Linked DNA regions of Homo sapiens: regions 2, 3, 4, 5, 6 and 7 are each linked to region 1. The links are contacts of gene promoters, found by promoter capture Hi-C in blood cells and fetal thymus (Javierre and others, 2016). All regions are on one chromosome and are shown on one strand. Each heading gives the region's core, a stretch centred on a gene start or on the middle of the fragment in contact. The rest is flanking DNA. Distances are from core to core; before and after follow the strand shown. Region 1 holds the start of SUGT1 (SGT1 assembly cochaperone of MIS12 kinetochore complex). Region 2 holds the start of TSC22D1 (TSC22 domain family member 1). Region 3 holds the start of DIAPH3 (diaphanous related formin 3). Region 4 holds the start of TPT1 (tumor protein, translationally-controlled 1). Region 5 holds the start of COG3 (component of oligomeric golgi complex 3). Region 6 holds the start of ZC3H13 (zinc finger CCCH-type containing 13). Region 7 holds the start of LRCH1 (leucine rich repeats and calponin homology domain containing 1).

Region 1 (2,849 bases), core at 99-2,598:
CACCTGGACCCTAAAAGGCCTTATAGGACCTGGCTCCTAGTTTCCTGTCCAACCTCTCTTAATCAAATGGGCCCTCTAATAAAAAGGGCCTTTTTGTTGCTTCACATACAGGCCAACTTCATTCCTACCTCAAGATCTGCACTGGCTCTTGGTCCTGCCTGGAATATTCTTTCCCCAGAGCTTCCAAGTTAATTCCCTTGTTCCTTCAAATCTCCACTCAAAGATCTCCTCAACGGAGGCTCTAGTACCATGTGGCACATTTCTTATAAAAGTCATAGCTAGAAAAGACGCTGTCTTGCCTCAAATTGTTAAACGTAACAGCAAAACAGGTTTCCTCTTTTCTGTGATTTAACGCAAAAACAAACAAAAACTCCTGGCTAAATTCTGTGACCCGCAGCATCATTTATCTTTAGGTTCTCCTTTAATTCTTATTATTTAACTCTTGATCTTTTACATTCCTTTACAGCTTTATGGTTTGCCTTCATTGCACACCTACAAAAAGTGATTTCTAGGTTAGCTGAGTATATAACCAAGACTTTAACCCACAGCAATCAGCGCCTTTGCACACAGCCACTCCAAAAAAAAATTTTGATGAATATACAAATGAGTGAATAATGAATTGTGATAAGACATCTGGAAAGTTTCAGGGACGTGAGGGAAAAGGGTTTTGCTCCAGTAGACTGACTTCATACCGACACTTTTACGTAAGAATGGCAAGAATTATTGTCAAACGAAAAAATTAACTTCATCGAGCCCAGAGTCCACTTCTCTAATCATAAATGTCATTAAAAAAAAAATCCTTTCAGCCAAACTACAAATGCCAACCATGCTCCCAAGAAATAGAGGAGGTTTTTCTCAGGAGCTGTAGGGAGTGGAAAGGGCAAGACAGGAGTCTGGGGTAACGCGGCTACCGTGTAACAGAGAAAAGAGACGGAGAATCTCAATACCGGAGCTGAGACGCAGCATCAACAAGAGCCTGGGTCCCTGTCCGGCGGTGCGGGGAGAAGGCGGGTCAGCGGGGACCCGAAGTGGCCCAGCTCCCCTAAGAAGAGTGGAGGAAGCAGAAATGGGCTCTCTCACCTCTAACGCCGCCTGGGGGTCCTCGTCGATTAGGGCATCCGAGAAGCTCTGGAAAAACCTGTCAGGAAAACAACGACTTCAGCAGGGCTCACTAGCCAAGGAAAGGGGGATAAAATAAATACCAAAGGGAAAGAAAAACATGCACCTCTGGGATGTTGCAGTTCCTGCTGCAGCCGCCGCCATCCCTCGTAGTCGCTGTTGCTGCCGCCGGAGCTGCTACTATCACGGTTACCACCTCCACCACCGCCCAAGGGGGAAACTTCTGGAGAAACACCAACCGAGCTTCCGTCCTAAATAGCCAGCGAGCAGCCACGCAGCGTGCTGCTAGGGGGACGGGAGGCGACACGCCGGCGCGGGGCCGGCTGGGACAGTGGAGGACCGATTCCTCCCAGCCGCACCCCGGCCCAGGACCCGCGCTCCCAGTCCCCGCCCCTCGCAGCCATGGTTACGGAGGCCTGGGGCGTACACGTTCTTCCTCCCTTCCACCGCGCCCACGCCAGCGGGCACTCCCACGGAGCTTTCAGTAGTACTTTAGAAGCACTTTTGTAACGTACTGTCATCCCTAAGGAACGTGTGGCGGTTAGGGGCGTTTGTATGTCTGTTAATAACGGAAGCTACTTCGAGCTCCCATTTTCCCTAGTTTTTATCATGGCTGCCACAGCTAGCCAAGCCCTTTCGCCTCCATTACGTCTTTAGCGGCTGCGTGGTCTCTTCCGGGAGCAGAGGCCCGGATGACGCGTGGATCCCCGCGATCTTTGGGCTGGGGATTCTAAACGACTGGGACTTGCCGGAAGTCATTCTGCACTAATAGCGGCAAAAAGCCTTCTGGTTCCTGGGGCGACGCGCCCGGCGGCCGTACTATTCACTTCCCCAGAACGCCACAGCCCAGGCTTTCTTCTTAGTGGGCTTCCCAGACCAAGAAGGGAAACCTTTCATCCGAAGGTACTGAGGGGAGGAAGGTGGCCTGAAGTTATCTCAGTGCCGCTTTGTTTCCCACCCCAGTCGGTCAGCCCTTCCTCAGCGCCCTTTAACCCTTGCAGATCGGATGGAGAAAGCTGCCAGCACGTTCTAGGGATGGGGGCAGATTGAGGAGCGGGAGGGAGTAGTCTTTGTCTAACTTTATACCAGTACCAAACTATGTTAATTTAATGTAGTTTTATAATAAATCTTTAAGTCCTGTAACTTATTCTCCCAAGATTGTTTTGGCTTATTCTACGGCCTTTGTATTTCTAGGTGAATTTTGGAATTAGCTTGTTAAAAAGGGGGGGGATTTTTTATTGGGCTCGCATTGAATCTATAGATCTGTTTGGGAAAACTAGTATCTTAACAACAAGTCCTTCAATCCATGAATATCATTCTTCCCCCACCATTTATTTAAGCGGTCTTTAATTTCTCCTGGCAATATTTTGTAGATTGCACATATATCTATATTTTAATGCAGCTGTGCTTGGATAGATTGCAGTATAGAGATCATATATATCTTTCATTAGATTTATTCTTGAGTATTTAGTGTTTTGTATACAATGTTAAATGGCATTTTGACTTTTTTATATTCTACTCGTAAGAATAAACAATATTGATTTTAACATACTGACCTTATATGCAAGCATCTTGCTAAGTTCCCTTGTTATTTGTAATACTCTGTAGATTCTTTCGGAATTTCTGTGATCAAAATCTTGCAATCCACGAATAAAGATGGTTTAACTTCTCTGTAACCTTTATACCTTTTATTTTTATTTATTTTTGCCTTTTGTTGCTGGCTAGTGTTT
Region 2 (2,849 bases), core at 259-2,758, 8.1 Mb after region 1:
AGGCGGGGGACACCACCCAAGGCGCGCACACCAAGCGCCGGCGCTCCCGCCGCCTCCGCCGGCCCTTCCGCGCCGCGCCCCCTCCTCTGCCGCGTGCCCGCGCGCGCCGGCCGCGAGTGTGAAAAGAGCGGACACACCTAACCTGGGCGCGCGGCAGGCGCGCACCCTGCCCGCCCCCACCGGGCCGAATCACGCAGTCCGACCCGGATTCGCTCCTTCGGCCGGAATTCCCCACCCCCACTATCCCCTCCGGCTCCACCACTCCCGGCTTCGGCGCCTCTGCCAGCCTTCGGTAATTTCCGTCGGGAGACCTGGCGCTCGCCTAGGCCCGAAGACCCGCCGCCTCCTGCCCCGCCAGACCCGGCTTTATGTCTGCGGCGCCGAGGCGCATGCGCAGACGCCATCTTCCCTCCTCCTCCTCCGCCTGCCCCCTCCCCCCAGCCACCACCGCCTCCTCTCGCCGGCGGTCGCCCCTCCTCCTCCTGCGCTCCGCGCTGGTCCCTCCCCTCCCGATGCCGCGAGAGACTGGGGGATACGGTGGAGCCGGGGGAGCCGAAGAAGAGCACTAGTAACAACCACCACAGCCCCCTCCCCGCCCGACACCCTCCCTCGGCACCCACTCACTCCCCCGCCCCGTTTGCCGACACCGACCAACCCCACCTCGTTCCTTTGAACGGCGTCGGCTGCAGTCGCTGCACCAGCCCGTCTGGCCACCAACGCCGCGGAGAAAGGAGCCGCCGCCGCCTGCGGCCCTCTCCCGCCCGGTCGCGGGAGCAGCGGGGTGAGGAAGAGCCGGCTGCGGAGGAAGAGGATAAGAGAGGGTCGCACCCTCCGCCCTAGCGCACGTCCCGCCGCCCTCCGGAGAGGCTCGGGTGCCGGCCCCTTCCTCCCCGAGGACGTGTGCCGAGTCGAGGCGCCTGCCCTGAGGGAGGAAAATGCTCGGGCTCCATGGCTGCCAGTGATGGAGCGGTCCCTGGGCTCCCGCTGCCACCGCCGCCGCCGCGCCCCGGCCGTGCTCCGCGAGGACCCGGCGTCTCTGCGCGCCCGCCCGCGCCTCGTTGCTGGGCTCACCGTACCGGGCGCCTCGCCGCCGCCCCGCTCGCAGCCGCGTCGCCCCGGCCCCAGCCGCGGCCAGCGTTTCCTCACCGAGCAGCCGCCGCGAGCCCAGGGGGTTTGAAAGGGTCTGCGGGGCGCGGGGGGAGGGCCGAGCGGGGCCGGGAGGGGAGGTTTGAGCGACACTGAGCTCGGGGCTCGCTGGCGGCGGCGGCGGCCCCGGGGGTGGCGAGGGGAAGGCGACATTTGCTTGGCGCTGCCTCCGTGCAGAGCGGCCGGGAGGGCTTTGCAGCGGCCGCCGACGCGGCGGGAGGAGGGGGCTGAGGCGGCTTCGGAGTTGGCCGGAGAAGGTGGGCATTTCTCGCTTTTCCTCCCCTTCCTGCGCTCTCCCCCTCCCTCCTGCCCCGCACCCCACGTGAAGCAGAATATAAAGGGGGGTGTGAGGCTAGAGGGGAAAGTGAATGGCGAAGGACTGAAGGGATCCCCCCTTCGGGTCCCCGGCCGCCCTGTTCACCCTCGTTCATCCTCCTTTCCGAAGCTCGCTCTCGAAGGCAGGAGCGACCGGCGCCTTTGGCTGAGGAGGAGGAGAAGGAGGAATCGCGCCAGGCGGAGCGTCAGGTCCCGTTTTCCTCTCCGGCGTCTCCAATACAAAGATTACGGTGCAGAAGGAAATTGCACTCGTCTCCTCCGCGCCCCCGGTACCCAACACAATGCACCAGCCGCCTGAGTCCACCGCCGCGGCCGCCGCCGCTGCAGACATTAGCGCTAGGAAGATGGCGCACCCGGCAATGTTCCCTCGAAGGGGCAGCGGTAGTGGCAGCGCCTCTGCTCTCAATGCAGCAGGTACCGGCGTCGGTAGTAATGCCACATCTTCCGAGGATTTTCCGCCTCCGTCGCTGCTTCAGCCGCCGCCCCCTGCAGCATCTTCTACGTCGGGACCACAGCCTCCGCCTCCACAAAGCCTGAACCTCCTTTCGCAGGCTCAGCTGCAGGCACAGCCTCTTGCGCCAGGCGGAACTCAAATGAAAAAGAAAAGTGGCTTCCAGATAACTAGCGTTACTCCTGCTCAGATCTCCGCTAGTATCAGCTCTAACAACAGTATAGCAGAGGACACTGAGAGCTATGATGATCTGGATGAATCTCACACGGAAGATCTCTCTTCTTCGGAGATCCTTGATGTGTCACTTTCCAGGGCTACTGACTTAGGGGAGCCCGAACGCAGCTCCTCAGAAGAGACCCTAAATAACTTCCAGGAAGCCGAGACACCTGGGGCAGTCTCTCCCAACCAGCCCCACCTTCCTCAGCCTCATTTGCCTCACCTTCCACAACAGAATGTTGTGATCAATGGGAATGCTCATCCACACCACCTCCATCACCACCATCAGATTCATCATGGGCACCACCTCCAACATGGTCACCACCATCCATCTCATGTTGCTGTGGCCAGTGCATCCATTACTGGTGGGCCACCCTCAAGCCCAGTATCTAGAAAACTCTCTACAACTGGAAGCTCTGACAGTATCACACCAGTTGCACCAACTTCTGCTGTATCATCCAGTGGTTCACCTGCATCTGTAATGACTAATATGCGTGCTCCAAGTACTACAGGTGGAATAGGTATAAATTCTGTTACTGGCACTAGTACAGTAAATAATGTTAACATTACTGCTGTGGGTAGTTTTAATCCTAATGTGACAAGCAGCATGCTTGGTAATGTTAATATAAGTACAAGCAATATTCCTAGTGCTGCTGGTGTGAGTGTTGGGCCTGGAGTTACCAGTGGTGTTAATGTGAAT
Region 3 (2,849 bases), core at 217-2,716, 7.5 Mb before region 1:
CCCTGAGTAATAATCCCAACTTCTTCAACTACAGTATTCCTGTAGGAGCATTGACAAAACTCTAAGGGCTTTACATATGCTATGTTATTTAGGCCTGAAAATGCCCCTCTTTCATAGGTATTAGTATAATTACCCCCCTTTTGTAGATGAAGCAGCAAAGAAAGTTAAACGTCATCTCCGGTATCAAATAGCTAGTAAATGGCAGGAATAAAATCTGTATCTGGGTCTGTCATCAAGATATAAGGAACTACTTGTAGTTCTCCTGACCTTGCTGTTCTCCTGTAAGTTTCCCTAAAGATTATGTGCTCTTTGAGGACAGAGCTGTAGAGTCTGGCACAGTAAAACAAATATTAAAAAAGAAAAGCTGTAGTGTGAAGACTTACTGAGAACTAAGGCTCATTTTTTGAACCTCTGTGCCAAACTCCTCAGAGTACCTAGAGTTGTTTCTTGTACCAAAATCAATACTGCATGTTTCCGAGTCTTGGCCTACACCACCTCCATATAATCAGAAGACAGATATCTTAAAGGAATAGTTCCAAGGAAAAGCTCATTTTTAAAGAGGGTATATTGATGTGTTGAGAAAACGGTGTTTGCCTTGTAGCTTGACCTTGGGTTTACACAACAAACTCTTTTGCATGGTTTCAGTTCAAGGCCCTTTGTTATGTGACCTTAAAGTTTCTTCACCTCTATGCTTTCTTGGCCTTGCTCCTGCCTGGAATGGAATGCCTTTTAAATGAATGCCCTGCCACTGTTTCCTGCCTAGTGAAAACCTATGCAGCTTTCCTTTTACCTTTCCAGATCCACTCCTTCAGATTTAATAACTTCCCTTTTTGTTCTCAAGGAACTTCTAAAACAACTGCTATAGACATTTACATTCCTTGGTTAATTGTGTTAGGGTTTGGAAACTACAGGAGACTGTGAGCTCCTGAAGGGCTCAGCCTAGCCTAGCTCTGTCTGATTTTGGGTGGACCCCTCTGCCACCCCAGAGCGAGCACTTAGGCAGGAAATATGTCCAGAAGGCTTCCTTTTGGAGCGTCGTGGGCCCCGTCGTTTCATCCTGCCTAGTACCCCTTCCAGCACCGTACCCAGTCCCAGAACTACTTTTTCCAGCCCCAGACGTGCAAGGAGAGGGCTAGCAGATGGTTTTATATCCCAGCGCTGCTCAAATGGTGGCGCAGGGCCTGTCTCGCCCACCTTCCAGTTCTGCTGGAACCCTATCTGCAAATCCAAAGAAATCCAGGCCGATGACTTCCTCCACGGTCCCCGGCGCTTCTCCAAATCTGACGCCACTCTGCGTCCTTAAGGTGAGCGGCCTGGACCGCCGGAAGGGTTGAGCGGCTGCATAGACAGGCCGCAAGGCCAATCATGTTTCGCAGTGCCCGGAAGGGGCGGTGCCTCAGCGTGTCATTGATCCGGCGGCGCGGGATTGGCCAGTCCCGGGCCAACACGGGTGGCGGGAGTTTTCAGATGTGTTGGCTGCGGCCCCGACTTCAGCGGTTGGGCTAGGCTGTGCTGACTGTTTGGGTGGCGGACCCCGGGAGTAAAACCTGTTGTCGATCCCTCAGCTTCCAGCTTGCGGCTTGCTGAGTGGCCACCTTCTTTCCGGTCCCCGGAGCTGCGGGGAAAGATGGAACGGCACCAGCCGCGGCTGCACCACCCGGCCCAAGGCTCAGCCGCTGGGACTCCCTACCCTTCCTCAGCCTCTCTCCGCGGCTGCCGGGAAAGCAAGATGCCGCGCAGGAAGGGCCCCCAACACCCTCCGCCGCCCAGTGGCCCCGAGGAGCCTGGGGAGAAGCGCCCCAAGTTTGTGAGTATCGCCTGGAGCTAGGGTGGGGCCGCTCCCGCCCCGCCGTAGGGCTGACTGCCGAGGGTGGGCCCACAAGAACTTGGGGACCAAGTTTTATTCTAGAGATCCAGAGGTGCCAAAGATCATAGATTGACAACGACCGGGTCTAGTTGTAGTTGGATCCTGTGACAAATGCCCAGATCTTTGTGTTGCCCCCAAATTTCTTAACGCTGATGTGAAAAGCAGTTCAAACGTGTATATGTATTGACGTCATCTAGGTGGACATTGCATTTTTTAAGTCGAAGTTCTCCCTTCCTCCCTAGTGTAAGAGGGTATAAGATATATCAAAATGAACTTTTAGGTGACAGGTTTTTTTTCTGCTTATTATTTTAATAAGAACTTTTAATTACATATAAGAACTTTTAAGGTAGATATAATTTTCCAAGTTGAAACAGCTAGTTTTAGAACTTGGCGGGTGGTGTGGTCACTGCTAAAGAATGTTTTGCTTAGCTTGGAAAGAATTCTAAATATTTGAAACTTGCTATTCTGGTTTGCTTGTGTTTAACACTTAAGGAAAGTGTCATGATTAACACCTTGTCTTTTCGTTGGTGTCAACTAGTGAAAGTATAGGCAGTGATGATTATTTTGGGGTTTGTGTGTGTAAATAAATCACATAGAGGGTTGATAGATTTGGGATGAGTCCAACAGAATTGAAATTTCACATTGACCACTCCACCATTTTCCTTAGGAATATGGAAAAACTGTGTGTGTGTGTGTGTGTGTGTGTGTGTGTGTGTGAGAGAGAGAGAGAGAGAGAGAGAGAGTACAGCATTTGCCTTATGTGGGCAAGTAAAAATTGTGAGAAATTTAAGTCATGATTCACAAATTAAGGGAATAATGGTTTGTGAACCAGTTGCTAACTATAACATTTAGTTAAAAATAATAGTTGAATAAGACTGAGAGCCCATATTCTGATACATGAGATATATCAGAATACTGAAAATGAGAAACAGCATAGATTAATTGAAAATGAGGAACAGCATAGATTAATTATGCCAAATTA
Region 4 (2,849 bases), core at 153-2,652, 7.3 Mb after region 1:
ATGAACACTTCTATAAGTAGGACTGGATCGAACTTGTTCACAATTGGAATCTTGGTGCAAATCCTAGTTCTAAGGGATACAAAGCACAAAATATTTGCGAAATAGAACAAGCTTTCAGACTTCATACTGGCATGTATCTTTGCCTTATGCCAAAGATGTGACGATGTGACTAAATACGGAAGTTTTGTTTTGCTATTGAGCCAAGGTCTTGCTCTGTCATTCAGGCTGGAGCGCAGTGGTGCAATCATAGCTCAGTGTAACCTCCAACTCCCGGGCTCAAGCGATCCTCCCAGCTCAGCCTCCCTAATAGCTGGGATTACAGGCAGGCACCACCGCACCCAATTAATTTTTAATTTGTGTGTGTGTGTGTGTGTGTAGAGACAGGGTTTCAGTAGTTGCCTCCCAAAGTTCTGGGATTACAGGCATGAGCTACCATGCAGGACCTGTTTTGTTTTAATACTTAGTAATTGGGTGTAAAGTCCTTCAAAAAACAGGTGGGGCAGGTGGGAAACTCCCTTTGTGTGACCCTCTAGCACCAGGGATAAAATTTCAACTTCATCTTAAAGCGACAACATACTTTTCCAAGACCAAGTGCGAAATAGTAAAGGGAAGAGCTAGCTCCGTAGCCGTCCGCCACAGAATGCCACAAGCTTTCAATTATGGGACAAAATTGGAACACATGGAAACCCTGTGCAGACTCCCGTGACATCTTCCCTCCTCTCCAAGTCCCTTCCCACAGACCTTGCGCCCCACACGATTATTCCCCAGGGGCCGAGCAGGACGACTTGGGTCCCACTATCCGGACTCAGCGGTGCCCCCACAAAAGCGTCCCAAAAACTCCAGCTGGGGCAGCCCTGGGGCAGATGCTGAAAAGTTGTCAGAGGCCCTCGGGCAGTCCCGAGATCTACCCCAGGCCAGAGGGCCTGACCCTCCCTAAATGCGACGTTCTCCTACCTTGGTTGATACTCACGTTCCCAGAAAAGGGTGGAACCTAGGCTGGACGAGGCGCAGGGCCAAAGTTTAATTCCTCTAAGCTCCACCCAGCTCCCAGCACCTCTCCAGGCGGCCCCGTGGGGTAGGGCGGAGCCGGGTCCAACGTACTCCGCTTCCCCCGCTCCACCCACCCAGGGCTAGGGAGCGCCCCGAGAGTTGGCCTCCTCCCACGCTGCGCGCGCACCTCCCCGCCCCCACCCCTACCCGCTGGCGTGCCCAGTGGAACGGAGCCTTGTGTCTCCGCCTCAAGTCCCCGGATGCTCACCTCCCCGACTCGCCCCCGCTGTGGCCCCGCCCCCGCGCGGCTCTTCGTGCCACGTCACCGCCTGCGTCGCTTCCGGAGGCGCAGCGGGCGATGACGTAGAGGGACGTGCCCTCTATATGAGGTTGGGGAGCGGCTGAGTCGGCCTTTTCCGCCCGCTCCCCCCTCCCCCCGAGCGCCGCTCCGGCTGCACCGCGCTCGCTCCGAGTTTCAGGCTCGTGCTAAGCTAGCGCCGTCGTCGTCTCCCTTCAGTCGCCATCATGATTATCTACCGGGACCTCATCAGCCGTGAGTCCTCACTGCACTATCCTTACTGCCGCACACGGGGGTCTGGGGTGCGGGTGGGGGCGGGGAAGGCGCAGCCGTCGCGGGCCTAGGGGACGCCGGCGGTCTTAGCCGAGCGCGGAGGGGTCGGTGCCCGGGGCTCGCGCCCAGCTCTGGTGTGCTACGGAGGGGCAGATCCCGCGTGCGGCCGCCGGCGCGGGAAATGCGGGAAATGGCGGCGCCAGGCGCACGGTGATGGGCGGCTCTGTGTATCCGGCAGACGATGAGATGTTCTCCGACATCTACAAGATCCGGGAGATCGCGGACGGGTTGTGCCTGGAGGTGGAGGGGAAGGTGAGTCGGTCGGGCCTGCGCGTGGGGGAGTCCGGGCCGAGCGGGCTCGGGTTTCCTCCGCTCCCCCGCCTGAGGTTGTGCAATCCTCCCCGCCGCCTCCTGGCGGAGGAGACGCTCTTTCCGGGCTTGGGTTTTTCTAGAAAACTGGAGGCGGAGCTGATCCTGGAAATAGGCCCGCCGCCTCGGCGCCCATCCTCCTCCCGGGGTTGTCCGGGACATGATGCTTCCGGCTTAGGAGCCTGGAGTCCTTTCGTGTTTGTCCTGTCCCCACTTACCAACCGGAGGCATCACATGCCCGCAACTGGAAACAACTTTTTAATGACCCCATTTTTTGTTCCGGCCAACAGACAACTCTTTTAAGTTAGGTCGTTTTGAGAAATCCACGGGTCACAACTTTATTCCCAAAATGGTGCTTTTTTTATTTTCAGCAAGAACTAAGAATACTTCTTATCCGTGAACTATTGGCGTGGAAGGTGCTTTGGATGCGTTTGTGTCTTTTGCAATTATACTGCTTTTTCTTAATGCAGATGGTCAGTAGGACAGAAGGTAACATTGATGACTCGCTCATTGGTGGAAATGCCTCCGCTGAAGGCCCCGAGGGCGAAGGTACCGAAAGCACAGTAATCACTGGTGTCGATATTGTCATGAACCATCACCTGCAGGAAACAAGTTTCACAAAAGAAGCCTACAAGAAGTACATCAAAGATTACATGAAATCGTAAGTGATACTGGCAGTACCTAGCTGATGTCTAGAATCTTACAGGATTTAAAGATTGGCTAACTTTTGAGGTTCTTTCGCAGTGGGTATACTTTTGTGAAAGTCCTTGCTTTTTTATTAATGAGTTCACGGAAAAGAGTGGTTGCTTTTCTATAATATGAGCATACTGAAGCCTGCAGTCTGTTTCCGTTTAGAATTAGAATAGTATTTTGAAAATAGTCAACAAGAAATGTAAACATTCTTGAAAGATACCTTCTG
Region 5 (2,849 bases), core at 141-2,640, 7.2 Mb after region 1:
GGTGGCTCACGACTGTAATCCCAGCATTTTCGGAGGCCGAGGCGGGCAGATCACTTGAGGTCAGGAGTTCGAGAACAGCCTGGACAACAGGGCGAAACCCCATCTCTACTAAAAATACAAAAAATTAGCCGGGTGTAGTGGCAGGCACCTGTGATCCCAGCTACTCGGGAGGCTGAGACAGGAGAATCGCTTGAACCCGGGAGGTGGAGGTTGCAGTGAGCCGAGGTCACGCCACTGCACTCCAGCCTGGGCGACAGAGCGAGAGAAAAGAATGCTTCCAACATCAAAAGTAACCATCACCACTGCTTATATAAAATAATCCTCCTAAACCTGGCCCTCAAAACTGGAAAACGTTTGTCAAACATCTGACAATTCATGTTACTTCCTGCTATTACAACTAATTGAATTGAATCACACAAGAAGCAGTAGTGCATAATATCCTAATGGTAAGTGGATTAAACACATTGACTCTAACACCGAAAACCAGCACTGCTTAATAATGTACTGAGCCAACTTTCAAATAAAATTCATTTTTATTGCTTTGCAATAGGTGAAATAAATCTGATCTCCCATAACTTGCACTTGATTGAGAGCTCATAGTTCAATGTGCGATAAATGAAACTCACTCAGGACCAAGTTTTGGTCTCCCCAAGACCCCCATGGACAAAGCAACCTAGGTGAATCATTAAGGCGGTAAACGAGCACGCGCTGGAGACTGTCCTGCAGCACAGCACCTCGGGTTGACTGCCTCTCCTTCTGGGAGAGAGTGGGCAGCAGGATTACGCCTCGGCTGACAGGACGCCTCGTCTGGGGCAAAACGTTCGGTGCAAGGCTCCGGGCCAACCGTCCCATGCTGCTGGGGGAGGACTGGGTTCCGGCGAGCACCAGCTGCAGGACACCCCCACAGCCGTCCCCAGGCAGAATTAGAGTCGGGGTCGCAGGCAGAGCGAAGCCTGACAGCCTGGGAGATGAGGCCCCTCCCACCGGATCCGCCACCATGGCCAGGGAGGAGTGGAGAGATATCCTGGGCAGAGGCTAGTGAGGCCGGGGTCCTGCCGGGGCGCCCGAGGAGAATCCCAGCCCCATCGCCCCGGCCCGGTTCCTGCCCATCACCTCACCTCAGCTGGCACCGGCAAGTTCTCTGCCGCCGCCTTCAGCTCCAATACCGAGTCCGTCTGCCTGTCGGTCAGCGGCGCCGTCGTGTCCGGTCTCCGATCCCAGAGAGCCAGCTTTTCCCTAGCGTCCCGCTCCGCCGCCGCCTCAGGCAGCAGCAACAGCGCCGCCTCCGCCATCGCCGCCGCCCTCGCGGCCTTCAGCAGCAGCGAGATGGAGGGGACCCCGACAGAGAGACCTGGGCCACTTCCGGGAGAACCGGAGCTTCCAACACTGCACCGGCGGCGGGGCGGGACGGAATGCCCTGACCCCGGAAACGGTTCCGCAGTGTGGGGGGCGGGACCGAGGCCAGTACCGACGTGGCTTTAAATGGGTACGACTATTTCCGGTTGAAACGTAGAAGGTGGAGAAGACAGGACCCAATGGAAATAGAAATGCCCCTACCGGAAGTCTTTTCCTCAACATCAATAACTTTATTGTTACGTGTTGTACAGATTATTGACAACTGCGCTAAATCACCCTGCCGGCAGGAGACTTGGATCTACACCTCTCTGCTTACAGCTGGGTAGTCTGGGTAGAATGTGTGGAGTGTATGATTTCCATGTTGGCATGTTGACAATTTATGCCTCTTGGATCAAAACCAAAAGCATAAACTTTTCCAACATCCAGTAATTCCCCTACTAGAAAACTAATTTACGGAAACACATAAAAAATTCAAAGATGTGTGTATCTCAGACATCATTAATGGTATCAAATAACTGGAGACAACCTAAATGTCCAACATTGAAGAACTGGATCAAGAATTTGTGGCACAGACCAGGCGCGGGGGCTCAGGCCTGTAATCTCAGCACTTTGGGAGACCGAGGTGGGCGTATCACCTGAGGTCAGGAGTTTGAGACCAGACTGGCCAACATGGTTGAACCCCGTCTCTACTAAAAGCACAAAAATTAGCCAGGCGTGGTGGCACATGCCAGTAATCAGCCTGAGAGGCTGAGGCAGGAGAATCTCCTGAACCTGGAAGGTGGACGTTGCAGTGAGCAGAGATCTTGCCACTGCATTCCGGCCTGGGCATCAAGTGAGACTGTCTCAAAATGTATAATAATAATAATTTGTGGTACAGACATGTAATTCTACTCTACCATTTAAATCATATTGTAGATTTGAGCAACAAAATAAATAATGATAGTATTGGATCATAATTTACAGAATAAAATAAATACCCATGAGTCCATACTGCTATAAATAAACGATTGAATAAATAAATGGTGGAGAACAGACAATCTTCTACAAGTTATGGAGGCCTCTTCCTGCTCCTCCCTGGAGTCAAGGCAGGTGGAAACAGCTTCGTAGCAATTTTGACCATTGTCTGGGTAAAGTCTGAAGGCTTTATTCAGGCTTTATAGCACAAATCAGTGCCTGGCTATGTTCCCAAATGAAGGCTCTGATCTTTTAAGAGCAGAATTTGAGACCGGGCGCAGTGGCTCACACCTGTAATCCCAGCACTCTGGGAAGCCGAGGTGGGCGGATTACCTGAGGTCGGGAGTTCGAGACCAGCCTGATCAACATGGAGAAATCCCGTCTCTACTAAAAATACAAAAAAACTTAGCTGCGCGTGGAGGTGCATGCCTGTAATCCCAGCTACTCGGGAGGCTGAGGCAGGAGAATCGCTTGAACCCAGGAGGCGGAGGTTGCTGTGAGCCAACGTTGCACCATTGCACTCCAGCCTGGGCAACAAG
Region 6 (2,849 bases), core at 137-2,636, 6.6 Mb after region 1:
ATGGTATGGGAAGGGGAAATGGGCAAATTCATACCCTGCTTGTGGAAGTATAAATGAATTCAGTTCTTTTGACGTCCATTTGGGAACATGCCGTAATTGCAAAAAGTACAGAGCCTTAGACTAGCAAATCTATTCTAGGGAAGAATATTCTAAAGAGACAAAGAAGCAATTATGTATAAACAAGGGTACTCATTGTAAAGTTGTTTATATTAGTTAAAAACTGAAAAAAATCTAAAGGTATACAAACAAATAAACATTTAAATCAAACAATTCCCAGTTTGTAAATTAATTTGAAACGTCTGTATTTCAACAATTTCTTTCTTCTTCTTTTAGACCTAGCTCCTGGAGGTGGGGACGATTGGATCTATGATTTGGGCATCAAATATTCGTTTACAATTGAACTTCGAGATACGGGCACATACGGATTCTTGCTGCCGGAGCGTTACATCAAACCCACCTGTAGAGAAGCTTTTGCCGCTGTCTCTAAAATAGCTTGGCATGTCATTAGGAATGTTTAATGCCCCTGATTTTATCATTCTGCTTCCGTATTTTAATTTACTGATTCCAGCAAGACCAAATCATTGTATCAAATTATTTTTAAGTTTTATCCGTAGTTTTGATAAAAGATTTTCCTATTCCTTGGTTCTGTCAGAGAACCTAATAAGTGCTACTTTGCCATTAAGGCAGACTAGGGTTCATGTCTTTTTACCCTTTAAAAAAAATTGTAAAAGTCTAGTTACCTACTTTTTCTTTGATTTTCGACGTTTGACTAGCCATCTCAAGCAAGTTTCGACGTTTGACTAGCCATCTCAAGCAAGTTTAATCAATGATCATCTCACGCTGATCATTGGATCCTACTCAACAAAAGGAAGGGTGGTCAGAAGTACATTAAAGATTTCTGCTCCAAATTTTCAATAAATTTCTGCTTGTGCCTTTAGAAATACAACCATGCATTCCGTTTGCTCCACGGTAATTAGGCGATGGCCCAGAAAGGGGAGGGGTGTCAAAAACGACAAACATAGCCTCTCATTCCAGCTCAGCTGCTCAATAAACACTGTTGAACGAATGAATGAGTGGCTCTAGGTACTGTCAACAAATGCCGCATTTTGCGCATTTACAACAGCTGTTTATGGTAAGGAATTATGTAATAAAAAGAGAAAACTCACTTAAATTCACTTTTAATTGGGAATTTTAGTTCTCCCGGGCTCCCAGTTTCCTTTCCTAGGATCTCTCACAGAGCACAGATTCGATTTCCAAGTCCCGCCGCACTCTTACCGCTCGCATGGAACCTTACGCCTAGAGGGCGTGTCCACGAAGGGTGGTGTCTGCGCACTGACGACTAATCTGACGGCCGGAAGCTGCCTGGGTCTACAGAGGAACAGGGCAAACCTCTGACTTCCGGCGGCATTTTGAGGCGGTCCTCCTAGCGGCCTGGTAGTGTTTTTGTTGCCTTTTCTTAATCTACAATCTCTTCGTTATTTTTCTTCCTGCGACCCAGTTTCGCTTGACCCTGGAGAGGCGGCGGGCGGGTTGGTTCTGCTTCTCAGCCATCCCGGGGGCTCCTCGCTAGCCAAGAGCCGGTTCCCGGGAGCCGCGCGCGCATCGCTTTCTCCTCGTCGTCGTCCTCCTGGGTCCAGGCGCGGGGACAGAGTCGCCTCCCCCGCTCCTCGGAGCGGCGGCGGCGGTGGTGCCTCCGGACTGCACTTGCGAAGGGAGCTTGGGGAGGAAGTAAGCGTTCTGTGAATTGGTGTGGGTATCTGGGGAAGGCATTGAGCGGACCCGTAATGCGGAGGCCCGGGTTACCCCCCCCCGTCTTTGCTTGAGTCACTGGGATTTTGAGCTTTCCTTGAGCATCCCACCCTTAACTCTGCAATAGCCCCCTGTGCTCAGGCGTAATTTCTCACTCTGATTATGATTCTGGCATTTGTCTAAGGGCGATAAGTAGACTCAGACAATAGGCTGTACCCCTCGTTACCATTTGATGTAAGCACGGGAACCCTTGTATGGTGTTCGTATTTGTGTGCGATGGAAGGGTGCAGCAATTTGGGCTTAAATTTAGAATCTTCCTCTATACTCATTCCAGATCTGTTAGAGAAAAACATCTTACTTGTGATTGGTCTTGTTTTTTTTTTTTTCCCTCAGCAGTGATAACGATTTAGGTCCTGGGAATTGAGTGCTACTTTATCTTCACAAGCCTTAGGTAGGTAGTTTTGGCAACTGTCAGAAACGGGGGAAAGTGGAATAGAAAGAAGAGAGTCTGTTTGGCGGCATTATCTCTCTGTAATAGGCTAACGCAATTTATGTGGTTTGAAAATTATTTAGAGTTGATAATACTTGAATTATGTTGGTAAGATGTTGTTTGTGAAGGGTAGTCTTAAGGTATTTGGTTATACTATGGGGCTTTCAGGTAATTCGAACTACTTTGAAAATTATGGGAGTATGAAGTCTCTTAAGATTTTTGGATTTTTAAAGTAGTTTTAAAAATTTGGAAAACATCTTTACACCTCAAGTTTTCGAAGTCCGCGATACCGTTGGAGAATAAATACTTATGCAGTTCAGTCTATGGGTATATGGTGCCAGTTAGCGGGGTCTAGTTCTGTAACATTTGAAATTACTGGCTTTAGTACAATATATTGGAGCGTTTTGTGAATACAATCTATAGATTTTCAAATAATTTTTATTTTCTTAATGAACTATTTAGATTATAACAGATGACAGTTTCAACTAGAGACTAGCAAAGTTGATGCAAGCTTGTAACAATTGCGGCTTTAAAAATAGTTGCACTCTGAAACTAAGGCTTTCACTCTGTGCATCTGGTAGGATTCAGTTTTATCAAATGTATGCCTCTT
Region 7 (2,849 bases), core at 192-2,691, 6.1 Mb after region 1:
ACACATGACGTAACTTGAAAAAGTTATGCTGCTTATTGGCGCGAGTTACAACTTGCCGGGCTCACACAGGAAAACAGGCTCACGTTAATTACTTTGCCTTTAATATGCCACGCCGTCCTTTCCTGGGGCCCCCGCAACGGTTGGGTAACTGAGAACCAGGTAGCCTCGGTGGTAGGACCCAAACTGTGTGGGCGGTGAGCAAAAGGCACGGAAGGAAGAGGGCCGATCGCTTCCGAAGCGGCAGCCGACTGGGATTCACTACAAGCCCGGCGGCTCTTTTCCCGCACAAGCGCAGGGAGAGGAAACTTGGGCACCTCACAGGCGGCACCGAGTTGCCCGATCGCTCGGCGATGTCGCCGAGGGGGCTCGCGGCACTGCGCCGATGCCCCTGGCTCGGCCGAGGGCGTGCCACCTTTGTCTGGGTTTCCCCACCAGGATGGGCTACGCCTCGATGCAAAGACGGCTTGAACTGGTTGGAGGCGCCGACGCCGCTGTCCGCGCTGGAGTTCCCAGCCCTGCGCGGGGCCCAGGAAGCCGACACAGCCGCCTGAAACCTCCCACTTACACTGCGCGCACGCGGCGCGCCTGCAAGTCCCAGCCCCGCGGTTACTTCCCTGGCGCGGCAGCCACAGGGTGGAGAGCCGGAGACCCCTCGCTCTCAGGCGCAGAGGCCCGGCGCACCCCTGCCCTCCTGGCACTGCATCGCCGGACCAGGCAGGGCCCCCGTGCCCTCTCCAGGGCCCGCTTCTTCCGCGCCCACGCGAGTCCCTTCTTCGGGAGACAACGGGCCGATGGACCCTCCCTCCCCCAGCAAGACAAGATCTCCGACTGTCCACCGCGTTAGGGAACGCACGACAGACACCCAGACAGCACCCACACCCCTGCCCGCCCCTCGGCCCTCACTCACCTGCCTGCACCGTGTCCGAGAGGTCGTGCCCGGGGGCTGCGGTACGGGGAAATTCCTTCAATTTCCTGGCGCTCAGGTTCAGCCCCCCGGAGTTGGCCGCCTCCTCAAGCGCGCGCTCCAGACCCCGGTTCAAGGGCAGGTTGAAGCCCCCGCTGCCACCGCCGCCACCACCCGCCCCGCCGGGGGCGCCGGTTCCTCCGTGGTGCTGATGGTGGTGGTGGTGGTGGTGGGGATGATGAAGTGGGTGCAGAGTAGCTACCGAAAGGGCCGGGACGAAAGGTTGGGGTTCGCTTCCCGGCGTCGCCATCTTCTCCCGGGCCCCCCCACCCCGCCCCGCCGCTCCTGCGGGGGGGTCACAGCGTTCCCCGCGAGGGGAAAACGGCAGCTCGGGCTGAGTGCCGCAGTGCTCCACCGAAAGGCGCTGGAAGGAGGGGAGGAGGGTGTGGGCAGGCGCGTAGAATGGGGGGCGGGCGGGGAGGCGGCCGTGGCAGCTCGGTCTTGAAGGTTTCCTGTCCCCGGGAAGCTAAGGACTGCGGCGGCGGCGGCGGCGGCGGCAGCGCGCATGTGTCTCCTCCCGCCCCTGCGCCCTCCCCCCGGCTGCTCTGCCCTCCTCCGCCGTCTGCTCTCTCCTCCTCCTTCCCCCACGCAGTCTGCCCCGCCTGAGCCTTCCTCCGCGCCTATTCTGCCGGCCGCCGCCGCCTTGCCGCGATCCGCCCCGCAATCGGGTACACGGCGGGGCTGGACGTCTGCTCCGGGGCAACTGAGGCGCCGAACCTCTCTCTGGGCGTCCTTTTGCCGCCCAGGAGGCTTTAGGGGACTGGAGGTTGCGGGGATAGGGGGGTGGTCTGAGAACACGGATAAAACGGCGGGAGGCAATGAATGGGATTTACAGTACAGTGAGGTTTGGGGCAGGAGAGGGTTCTCTCAATTCTGCGATTTATTCTGGCCGTTTAACCCAGAGATCCCCAAGAGGCAGTTTTCATTCACTATGGGGTCATCCCTGCAGATGCCCCCTGGCATTTGGGCGCTTACAATGAACCAGACGCTTGTTTAGGGAGTCTACGTAAGTTACCTCATTAATCCAGGGACCCCAGGAGTGCCAAAGTTGTTCCCCTGAGTCTACAGAGGAAGTTAATAAATGTATCTAAGGTCACCCCTGCAGTTAGAGGGGCGCTAGATTCGAGCTAGGGCCCTCAGAATCTAGGGTTGCCCTCCTTCACAGTGTACCCCTGGGCCAGACGCCAGCGCCAAGGGACGAATACGAGTGGGACAGAGTGTTTGCTGAGCGGCAGAAGAAAGCTACAGACATAGGAAAGAAAAACTCAAAATGAGGGCAGTGTTTATGGGGGACAGAAGACATTGTCGTAGGAGAAAGATGAGCTGGCTGCTCCCCGAAATTGGGTGGTGCCAGGAGAGGCTAGAAAGCCAGTGACCCCAAACAGCAAATCAGTCACAGCTCGAGTCTGAGCTGAAAGAACCATCGAAGTCTCCTTGTGCCCTTCTTCTTCCCGCTTTGGGGCATGGAAACGAACATGTCCGCTTGCAAGTGAATTCACATTCTGCCATCAGCCACCCAGTGGCACCCAGGCCAATGCTGGCACACCAGGGGCGACAGAGAACATCTGACACCCTAAGGGCAGACCAGCTGGACGATTAATAGAATACCATTCCTTTCCTGAAGTTAAAGCTTCATGTCCAACTTTCCAGGGCCTTTATTTTTGCTCTATTCTTAAGGCTTGATTGTCCCCTATGAGCGACTTGGCTTGGGGAAAATGAGTCGGGGGGTGGGTGCGGGGTTGTCGGGGTGTCAAGCACGAAAGTAATGCAACCCTTGGAGTAGGGGAGCTGGTTTTTTAAGTGGTAATACATAAGTTTGATGGCCTAGACAACAGGCTGGAACTGGTGACTTCATGGACTCGGCACTTAAGTATGGCATGATCTG

Evidence for each region. The method cuts DNA at HindIII sites, captures the fragments that hold promoters and counts their contacts. A CHiCAGO score of 5 or more calls a contact.
Region 2: the fragment with the promoter of TSC22D1 here is called in contact with the fragment with the promoter of SUGT1 in region 1 in 3 of 17 cell types (naive CD8 T cells, activated CD4 T cells and total CD4 T cells); the score reaches 7.6 in naive CD8 T cells.
Region 3: the fragment with the promoter of DIAPH3 here is called in contact with the fragment with the promoter of SUGT1 in region 1 in 2 of 17 cell types (total CD8 T cells and naive CD8 T cells); the score reaches 6.7 in total CD8 T cells.
Region 4: the fragment with the promoter of TPT1 here is called in contact with the fragment with the promoter of SUGT1 in region 1 in 1 of 17 cell types (non-activated CD4 T cells); the score reaches 5.5 in non-activated CD4 T cells.
Region 5: the fragment with the promoter of COG3 here is called in contact with the fragment with the promoter of SUGT1 in region 1 in 3 of 17 cell types (monocytes, total B cells and naive B cells); the score reaches 13.9 in monocytes.
Region 6: a contact is called between the fragment with the promoter of ZC3H13 here and the fragment with the promoter of SUGT1 in region 1, in 2 of 17 cell types (non-activated CD4 T cells and total CD8 T cells). The highest score is 8.9, in non-activated CD4 T cells.
Region 7: the fragment with the promoter of LRCH1 here is called in contact with the fragment with the promoter of SUGT1 in region 1 in 1 of 17 cell types (naive CD8 T cells); the score reaches 5.4 in naive CD8 T cells.

The regions. Positions count from the first base shown.
Region 1 is chr13:52,651,335-52,654,183 of GRCh38, reverse strand. SUGT1 (SGT1 assembly cochaperone of MIS12 kinetochore complex) reads right to left here and starts at 1,348. Exons shown (of 13, transcript NM_006704.5): 1 at 1,226-1,348; 2 at 1,081-1,138. The coding sequence starts at 1,263. SUGT1-DT (SUGT1 divergent transcript) reads left to right here and starts at 1,877. Exons shown (of 1, transcript NR_170300.1): 1 at 1,877-2,849. RefSeq lists enhancers at 868-987, 1,097-1,598, 1,708-2,047 and a silencer at 1,348-1,617. The HindIII fragment of the contact is 4,517 bases long and covers 1-2,849 here.
Region 2 is chr13:44,574,989-44,577,837 of GRCh38, reverse strand. TSC22D1 (TSC22 domain family member 1) reads left to right here and starts at 1,508. Exons shown (of 3, transcript NM_183422.4): 1 at 1,508-2,849. The coding sequence starts at 1,764. TSC22D1-AS1 (TSC22D1 antisense RNA 1) reads right to left here and starts at 1,942. Exons shown (of 3, transcript NR_038381.1): 1 at 1,568-1,942; 2 at 661-796. RefSeq lists silencers at 46-245, 516-755, 766-1,475 and an enhancer at 1,796-2,035. The HindIII fragment of the contact is 6,017 bases long and covers 1-2,849 here.
Region 3 is chr13:60,162,545-60,165,393 of GRCh38, reverse strand. It overlaps DIAPH3 (diaphanous related formin 3), which reads left to right and starts at 1,466. Exons shown (of 28, transcript NM_001042517.2): 1 at 1,466-1,807. The coding sequence starts at 1,628. It overlaps LOC105370227 (a long non-coding RNA gene), which reads right to left and starts at 1,337. Exons shown (of 2, transcript XR_942001.2): 1 at 1,195-1,337. RefSeq lists an enhancer at 1,028-1,077. The HindIII fragment of the contact is 7,568 bases long and covers 1-2,849 here.
Region 4 is chr13:45,339,736-45,342,584 of GRCh38, reverse strand. It overlaps TPT1 (tumor protein, translationally-controlled 1), which reads left to right and starts at 1,402. Exons shown (of 6, transcript NM_003295.4): 1 at 1,402-1,543; 2 at 1,800-1,873; 3 at 2,401-2,591. The coding sequence starts at 1,516. TPT1-AS1 (TPT1 antisense RNA 1) reads right to left here and starts at 1,240. Exons shown (of 11, transcript NR_024458.1): 1 at 1,198-1,240. It overlaps LOC124903169 (a long non-coding RNA gene), which reads right to left and starts at 1,151. Exons shown (of 2, transcript XR_007063781.1): 1 at 955-1,151. RefSeq lists silencers at 1,026-1,225, 1,386-1,495, 1,576-1,645 and an enhancer at 1,543-2,332. The HindIII fragment of the contact is 2,255 bases long and covers 653-2,849 here.
Region 5 is chr13:45,463,480-45,466,328 of GRCh38, reverse strand. It overlaps COG3 (component of oligomeric golgi complex 3), which reads right to left and starts at 1,390. Exons shown (of 23, transcript NM_031431.4): 1 at 1,119-1,390. The coding sequence starts at 1,292. The HindIII fragment of the contact is 5,472 bases long and covers 1-2,849 here.
Region 6 is chr13:46,051,283-46,054,131 of GRCh38, reverse strand. It overlaps ZC3H13 (zinc finger CCCH-type containing 13), which reads left to right and starts at 1,386. Exons shown (of 19, transcript NM_001330564.2): 1 at 1,386-1,728. CPB2 (carboxypeptidase B2) reads left to right here. Exons shown (of 11, transcript NM_001872.5): 11 at 334-946. The coding sequence ends at 518. It overlaps CPB2-AS1 (CPB2 antisense RNA 1), which reads right to left and starts at 1,284. Exons shown (of 3, transcript NR_046227.1): 1 at 1,167-1,284. RefSeq lists enhancers at 1,221-1,420, 1,431-1,600, 1,130-1,665, 1,666-2,202. The HindIII fragment of the contact is 2,282 bases long and covers 471-2,752 here.
Region 7 is chr13:46,551,762-46,554,610 of GRCh38, reverse strand. LRCH1 (leucine rich repeats and calponin homology domain containing 1) reads right to left here and starts at 1,441. Exons shown (of 20, transcript NM_001164211.2): 1 at 908-1,441. The coding sequence starts at 1,214. RefSeq lists enhancers at 308-627, 284-984 and silencers at 1,188-1,247, 1,308-1,497. The HindIII fragment of the contact is 3,547 bases long and covers 1-2,596 here.